3 separate regions of the Homo sapiens genome follow, and all the other regions are linked to region 2. Evidence: promoter capture Hi-C in 16 types of primary human blood cells and fetal thymus (Javierre and others, 2016). All regions are on one chromosome and are shown on one strand. Each heading gives the region's core, a stretch centred on a gene start or on the middle of the fragment in contact. The rest is flanking DNA. Distances are from core to core; before and after follow the strand shown.

The links. The method cuts DNA at HindIII sites, captures the fragments that hold promoters and counts their contacts. A CHiCAGO score of 5 or more calls a contact.
Region 1: a fragment that was not itself captured here is called in contact with the fragment with the promoter of ADAMTS16 in region 2 in 1 of 17 cell types (M2 macrophages); the score reaches 6.4 in M2 macrophages.
Region 3: a contact is called between a fragment that was not itself captured here and the fragment with the promoter of ADAMTS16 in region 2, in 3 of 17 cell types (total B cells, naive B cells and naive CD8 T cells). The highest score is 10.8, in total B cells.

What each region holds. Positions count from the first base shown.
Region 1 is chr5:6,568,125-6,570,824 of GRCh38, reverse strand. No RefSeq gene overlaps it. Among named protein-coding and RNA genes, the nearest start is that of LINC01018, 13 kb to the left of the region's middle. The HindIII fragment of the contact is 5,226 bases long and covers 1-2,700 here.
Region 2 is chr5:5,139,018-5,141,717 of GRCh38, reverse strand. It overlaps ADAMTS16 (ADAM metallopeptidase with thrombospondin type 1 motif 16), which reads right to left and starts at 1,388. Exons shown (of 23, transcript NM_139056.4): 1 at 1,179-1,388; 2 at 952-1,054. The coding sequence starts at 1,250. ADAMTS16-DT (ADAMTS16 divergent transcript) reads left to right here and starts at 1,664. Exons shown (of 4, transcript NR_109915.1): 1 at 1,664-1,762. RefSeq lists an enhancer at 1,616-2,182. The HindIII fragment of the contact is 3,896 bases long and covers 1-2,700 here.
Region 3 is chr5:6,750,163-6,752,862 of GRCh38, reverse strand. TENT4A (terminal nucleotidyltransferase 4A) reads right to left here. Exons shown (of 13, transcript NM_006999.6): 10 at 2,360-2,532; 11 at 1,666-1,824. Among named protein-coding and RNA genes, the nearest start is that of TENT4A, 38 kb to the right of the region's middle. The HindIII fragment of the contact is 7,499 bases long and covers 1-2,700 here.

The sequences.
Region 1 (2,700 bases), core at 65-2,564, 1.4 Mb before region 2:
ATTGGGTGTGCTGTGGAGAAGCAGCGTGGCCCTGTACAGTTCCCCTCCCCCAGCCTGTGCTGTTAGCCTTGGCTAAGGACTTTCTTCTTGACTCTGTCCAATGTGTTCTTTGGAAATGTGGATCCCCAAACAGGAAACGTTTTCCACAAGGGCTTGACCGGACTTGGTACGGGGAGAAAATGAGTGCTTGTGTTGATTCATTTCTGCTCTGTAAATAGCCATTGGTTTTTCAGGCCCTCTCTGGGCTGCACACTGTACCCAGTGCTGGGGGTTCAGGCCTGTGGACCCTGAGGCTGCTCCCCACTCGTGCTGTGTCTAAGGGAGGCACACGCCACAACAGATAATCTCCATGTCGTCAGCCAACAGGCTGTGGCAGGGCTCGCAGCCCGACATGGGGTTTTGCAGAAGTCTGCTTTCTAGACTTATACGTGTGCCAGGTAGTAATGTGCAGAGTTTGAAAAGTTGAGTATTGCTAAGGGTTTCATACAACAGTTCTCTGCTCCACTTTGAACTCTTAGCTTTTTTTTTTTAAATATACCTTTAAAATTTTAATTGATATGTGTATTAGTCAGGATTCTCTAGAGGGACAGAACTAATAGGATATATTATATATTATATATAATAGGATATATATGTGTATATATAATAGGATATATATGTGTATATATAATAGGATATATATGTGTATATATAATAGGATATATATGTGTATATATAATAGGATATATATGTGTGTGTATATATATATCAGCAGGGGTCTTCAGTGCATTTGTAACATGGCTATCCCCTGTTTCCTTTATATATATATATATACACCCACACACATATAAAGGGGAGTTTATTAAGTATTAACCCACATGATCACAAGGTCCCACAACAGGCCCTCTGCAAGTTGAGGAGCAAGGAGAGCCATTCTGAGTCCCAAAACTGAAGAACTTGGAGTCCAATGTTCGAGGGCAGGAAGCATCTGGCATGAGAGAAAGATGTAGGCTGGGAGGCTAGGCCCGTGTAGTCTTTTCATATTTTACTGCCTGCTTTATGTTCTAGCCATACTGGCAGCTGATTAGATGGTGTCCACCCAGATTAAGGGTAGGTCGACCTTTCCCAGCCCACTGAGTCAAATGTTAATCTCCTTTGGCAACACCCTCACAGACACGCCCAGGATCAATACTTTGCATCCTTCAGTCCAATCAAGTTGACACTGTATTAACCATCAGAATATGTCATTCTTTTGTCTCTTGATTTATTAATTTAATTTAGTTAAGTTTCTTTTATGGAAAATATCAATCATACAAAAGTGGGGAGAATGGCACAATGACCCTTCCTCATGCAGCTGTCACCCAGCTCCAACAAGTGACAACCTTTGTCTAATCTAGTTATATCTATGCAGACTGGTCCCCTGATGCACACACACACACACACACGAGACACTATCATTTCATTCATAAATTTTCAGGATGTGTTTTCTCTTAACACAAATGTGATGTGATTTTTCTCACCTAAAGGCAGAGTTGAATTCTGCTGTGCTCCAGTTTAAAAACAAGCTCAGGATCTTAGCAGCTTGAAGGACACATTGTGTTGCTACTGTATTATCCCCTCCCTCTCCCGTCTTTCCCCTTCCCGTCTTTCCCCTTCTTCCCGTCTGATTTCCAGGGGACTATCAGCTCCAGGAGGCAGGGCCCCTGTTGAGCTTGTGCACAACTGTCTGTGTCTTAGCACCCTGCACTTGGGAGTACTCGATGCGCACTCATAGAATGCATCTGGATGTCCTGAAACAAGCCATTTCCTCCCCATTTGCATTTCTTTCCAAAATGCATTTCCACGCCCTGCAGGGCTCTACTTCTTGCTCTAATAAACTGAATCCCCTTCAACAAAGTCAACTGGTATTTTAATTTTCATCTTGTGAGAAGTGGTTTCCCAAATGATTATCCAATCTAGTGGTTCTCCACCCTGGCTGGCCATTAGAATCACCCGAGTGGCTTTGAGAAAACCCTGGGCCCACCTTAGAGAACCTAAGATGACAGGTCTAGGTGGGTGGGTCCCTGGGTGGTCTTGATGGGCAGCCATGGTGGAGAAACTATAACCCAGCCCATTCTCAAAGCACTGACAGTATCCAGAGGGCAGACAGGCTGGTTAGTGGAAATAACTGCTCTGAATGCCTGAAATCATTTGCTTGACCCAGTTTTCTTTCTTTCAAGCCCAGGCAACAGCTGGGGCCGGACTATTAAGCCAATGAGCTCAGCCTAATTGGAAACCACCAGGGACCTCATTGTCCAGTGAGATGGAGCAGCTCGTGCTGGCCCTTCCAAATGCGCGTGTCTTACAAGTGATGCTTCCCAGGTGTTACACAGAGGCAGGGCCCTTCGGAAAAGTCAAGACTCATCTTTATTCCTTCAACACCCCAGACTAAAACCTTTTTTCCCCCGAGGCTCCACAAACTAAGTGGAGAACCTCAGTGTGCACCTGTTATCACCTGGGTGCTTTCGGGTAAATGAGATGCAGTGAAACATCTTATGGGCATGGGAAGGTGTGATGGGCAGAGTTCTAAGATGGCCTTCAGGATTCCTGTTCCCTGGTGGGTATGCCCTGGGTAATCCCCTTCCCTGGGTGGCAGGCAGCCCCTCAGAATGTGATGGGACATCATGCCCATGAGAAGGCTGCCAATCAGTTGACTTTGAGTTATCAAAAGCAAGATTACCC
Region 2 (2,700 bases), core at 139-2,638:
TTGAAATAACTATACTGAGAAATTCTGAATTGTTAACTTTAATTTTCTAGATCTTCTGGAAATACATTGAGAGAATGAAACCTAGTTCTTCCTATAAAAGTCAATTAATATTAACATTTGATACGGCAATTTATTGTTGGTAACAATGCAAAATAATATTTATTAACTGTCATTGGATGGGTTCAGGTTAAAAAACCACCTAGCAACCAGTGCGACACACCTGCGTTCTCATTTACCTGATGCAGTATGAAGACACAGAGATCCCTTTCCATAAGACAGCAAATTTCCAAATGTCACTTGTAAGTGGCAGAAGTAAAAGCATGCATTGAAAAAGAATAAGACTTGCCCTCATGTCAAATTGTGGCCCAGGATATGAACGTTGCTGATGGTGTCACAATCAGCTGATTAGCCATTTCAGGCACTATTATGTTTGAAGTACGCCCTGATTGTTGGAGCATTAACTTTGGTATTGAGATGCTAAGCGCTTCTTTTATCTCCTTCACTGAGAATAAGCAACGATAGAGGAATATTTTAATCTATAAAGGAGGAGAAGGAGGAAAGGTTGGGGACGGGAAGGAGGATCCGAGGATGTAGAAGGGGACGGAAAAGAAAGTAATTTGCTCTTTATGACGGCTTTGATGCATACATTAATAGCTTTAGATTCTTCCTAAGCTCTTTAGAATAAAATAAAATGAACTTCCTCACCTTTTTCCTAATGTTATATCAATAACTCTGGCAAACCGTTTTGCCAGGGAATAAAATGTAAATATTGGTGGAAATCCACTCATCGGGGCTCGCTCATACAGTTAAAAAAAAAAAAAGTTCACAACAGCATCTTAAAAGTAGGGTTCCACAGAGTCGTGAACATTCACAGCACCTAATAAACCAGCGGCACGGAGATTACGAGCTGCTAAATGGCAAGGATTAGAAGCCCCCACCTCACGGACTTACCGCCCTTTTCCATCCAGCCCGGCCGCTCCGCGGGTGGAGGAGGACGCGGGACGCTCGGGCTCCCAGGCGCTGCCGCTGCGGGTCCCATGGCGCACGCAGGTGCCTGCGGAAAACAGCGGCGACATCGCGGTGAGACGGCGGGGTCCGCGGGAGAGGAGCCGCGGGGGACTCGCCTCCAGCTGTCCGGACCCGCGGTTTCCGCGCTGGTGGGAGCGCCCGGGACTCACCTGCTCGGCCACCTGCGCCAACAGCATCCACAGCGCCGCCAAGCCCCGCCATCCGCGCGCGCGGGGCTTCATCCAGGAGCGCTCCGAGGGGCTAGGGGCCACCGGAGGGTCCCCGGCCGGCAGCGTGCGAGCGGGCAGGGAGGACCCGACCCAGGCAGAGCGCGGGAGGATTCCCCACAGCGACTCCGCCGCCGCGCCGGGGTTATTACTGAAGCTCCGTGCGGCGCGGGGGGCGGAGTGGCAGCCGCGGCGGCGGGGGCGGCGGGAGCGGTGGGAGAGCGCGGGGCGGGCAGGGGAGAGAGGAGGGGAGGAGGTGAGGGCGGGGGGGTCAGAGGACCGAGGAGGGGAGAGTGCAGGGACAAAGAGCAGAGGGGAGGAGGCGAGGTCAGCGGGGCGCTGAGGCGGAGGCGAGCGGGGAGCAGAGGGAAGGCGGGAGACAGCGGGCAGCGCCAGAGGAGGAGGACGCGGGAAGATGGAGCTGCCCACGGCCTGCAGTCCGTGCCTCTCTGCCCGCGCGGGGACCACACAGTTGGAGAGGCTGCCGGGCACCGGCGCGGGCGATGCTCAGCATGGACCTCCGGCCGGTGCGCGCTCCTGCCCTGCCTTGGGGCTGGGGACTCGGCGGGACTCCAGCTACTGCAGTGGCTCCGCGGGCTCCCACCTCCGGGCCGCACCGGCGCCGCCAGAGGCCGGGACACCTGCAGCCCGCGGAGTGCGGTCTGGCCGCGCCTCTGTGCCCGGGCACAGCTGTGGGGACACTGGGTGCGGAAAACCGGGCGCCAGGACGTGGGAGAGCCGCGGACCTGCCTTTAAAGGCGCGTGCCTCGCTCTGGAGTTTGCGGAGCGATCGGAGACGGGGAGGCTGAGGAGGAAACTCTTCCCCCGCGCCATTTGCCCCGAGATGTGGCGGCGCTCCTGGCCCCGCGGTCACGGCCACCCTCAACTGGCCAGGCCGCGGAGGCCGGTGACTGGCTGCTGGGTGCAATCCCTAGGGAGGTCTCAGGGCTGCGGATGGGCCTGGGTCTCGGCCGCCACGGGGGTCGATCGGGCTACTGTGTGGACAGGGTGGCCAAGGAGGCAGCAGGTGTGCGGTCAACAGCCTGGCCAGAATTCTGCTGTAGCTGGATGGGGTGTGTGAGCGCGCGGGTGTACATGTGCCTGGGTGTGCGCGGGTGTACATCCACACCTGACTGCGTGTGCGCGAGTACACGCTGTGAGCCCATAGTGTGTCTGGAATTGGTGGGTTCTTGGTCTCACTGACTTCAAGAATGAAGCCGCATACCCTCGCGGTGAGTGGGTACAGCTCTTAAGGTGGTGCGTCTGGAGTTTGTTACTTCTGATGTTCAGATGTGTTCGGAGTTTCTTCCTTCTGGTGGGTTCGTGGTCTCGCTGGCTCAGGATTGAAGCTGCAGACCTAGGCGGTGAGTGTTACAGCTCTTAAGGCAGAGCCTCTGGAGTTGTTCGTTCTTCCCGGTGGGCTCGTGGTCTCGCTGGGCTCAGGAGTGAAGCTGCAGATCTTCAC
Region 3 (2,700 bases), core at 11-2,510, 1.6 Mb before region 2:
AATGAGAGACGGCCATGGGTACCAAAGCAATCAGAGGAAAACCATCCGGCTTCTAAGCTCAGCACCACCAAAGGGCAGCTGATAAATGGCACAGTTGCATGTGGGCTCCATAGAGCAGTCTGTTTTACTATTACCTAACAATATTGTGCTTTGAATTGGAAATACTTCGTATTCTAAAACAGCAACTGGCATATAAAGTATGCCCAGTAATCCAAGTCATAAAGTTTGAAACTCATTGAAGATCAAACGATCAAGACATTAGAGTCATCAGAAGAACAACCGTCACCCCCGTGGTGAACCCCCTACTCACACGCTGAACTCAGGGGTCACAGCCCAAGGCTGGCCCAACTGGTGGCCTGAGAGGCCGTGGGACGGCTGGCAGTTCCTTCCTTGCCTGCTGTCCAGGTCCCAGGCTGCTTCTATGTCAGCATCACCCGTTACTGTCAGCAGCAGAAGTGCGCTAACGAGAACCCCTTTTCTCAGACTTGCAATACTGACCTGGTTGCATCTTGGCATCCCGTGCATTTACCCCAACAACCTCTGGAGATTGACTGTGGCCAAGAGTCTTCTTAGATAAAAACCTATAAACCCTCAGCGTCCCTGGACTTCACACTCGAACCACACAAGCAGCCGCAGAGTGTGGCTCTGTAGCTCAGCAGCCGCACTGGGCTCTCAAGGGCCCCAAGGCTTGTGGGTGGTTAAAACAAACACCTTTGTGACACATGGCCAGGACGTCAGGGCCACTGTGATGACCATAAAAAGGCGACCAAGTTTATCTGTGGTATAATTCATTTTAAGAGTGTAAATAATTGCCCCTGAATTTTACACTTATGCTGCAATTAGACACGTTACGGTGTCCGGCTGGGCCATGGCTCTGCTCATCAGCTCTGTGGGTCATTACAGAGCCAGCATCCCAGAAGCTCCGCCAGAATCACGGTGGATCCTGTGAGAATGTCTTCCCCAGAGCAGAGTGCAAAACTCCAAGAAATGAGTCAAAACACTTTTGCATGTACCTACATAGCTTTATGCTCAAATTATACCCCACATTTCAGAAAATGGTTTTAAGTCAATTAACATGTTGGGTTTTATACCCACACATATTCAAGTGATGTATAATCGCAAGTAGATACAAAATTTAGTATTTATAAAATTATCCTTTAGATTTCTAATTTTATCTAAATTTTAAAAACAGTATATTCCAACAGAAAAAGCCTTAGAAATTATGCCTAATTTCAAACATGAAAAAAGTCTAATAAGTTCACATTAAAACTTTCATTGAGATTCTGAGAGGAAGTAGGGACAAGTGTCTGGCACGGCTTGGCGCCCAGCTAAGTGGGTCGTGACTGAGTCGCTCTCTCAAGATGACCCTCGACAGCAGTCTCATGCTGGGGCAGTGAGGAAACTTGCAGGAAGGCAGTCAACCTGGCCCCCGTGAAAAGCCACGGCAGCACTCAAGAACCACAGTGTCCTCGCTGCTGAAACTATACATGGGGGACCTCAACACCACAAAAAAGAGAGGATTTCCTAGAACAACACACCAATGGCCAAATACTCAAAAAGTTACTCTTCTAATTCAAAGGACCATCAATCTCCTCTAGTGCATATCACAGCTCGGATGCTGTTCCCAGGGGCCACCAGCGGGAAGGGTGCCAGAGGGCCACGTACCTGATTGTTGGTTGTCATGATCAGTGTTCTGGAAGTGGTGGGCTGAGGTTTGCCACTGGGCATTGGCAAGGCGGTGGGTAAGCCGGCCATGAGAGGAGCTGGCGCTTGCAGACTGAACTGGTAAACACTGGGCGTTGTGCAGGGCGGTGTGTCTGAATCCTTGAACCCGGTACAAAAAACAAAAAGGACAGCTGTACCACAAAGGTGCACTACTACTTCCTTAAAGCTATGAAAAGAAACGCCTGCATCCAGGCTGGCTATGAAAGGTTATTCAAATTAAGTCTAACTTCTGAACAGGCAGCCCAAACCTACCCAGGCTTCCTTCAAGTAATTTCATCACAACTGAAAAAGAATGTTAAAGGAAATACAGAAGAGATACTTGGATTTAATTTTTTTTTTAATCTTCAAATAAATTTTTAAAAACTACTCAAGGAAGTCCACTGTAGTTCAACCATTTAGAGGATTACTGCCCTCGACAGCCGCATGAGTCGCACAGACAGGTTCTGAAGGTTCACGGCAGGGGAAAGGAAGCCTGGTGCCCACATCACGGGGCTGCCCCCCACCCACCTCCACACACATACAAGGAAACAAAACCTGAGCAAAACCAAGGGGGAGATTTTAAGCTCGCGGCTATGGACATTTACCAGAGACACAAACTGTCCAACAGACACACGGAGGAGGGGAGGGCACTTACAACGTCACTCCCAGAAAGTGAAGACACAGAAGAGGCCGAGGAGCCTGAAGACAGGAGCTGGGGGCTGGACAGCGACAAAGTCAAGCGCTGGCCATAGGGAGACTCGGGCTCTCGGTTCTGCGTCTGCTCCCCATTGCATGTGGCTATTCGCTCTTTGATCTTGATCCTGCTGTCTGTGGAGGGAAAAAGCCTTGGTTAATAACTCCTGAGAACTGCGGCGTGGAGCCGCCCCGGCAGCATCAGTCACGGGCTCTGCTGAGCCGGGAACGCTGCTAATGTGACTAACAAACCCAACATTAGGTTTTGCCTAATTTAATTTTAAAAATTACATTCAATTAGTT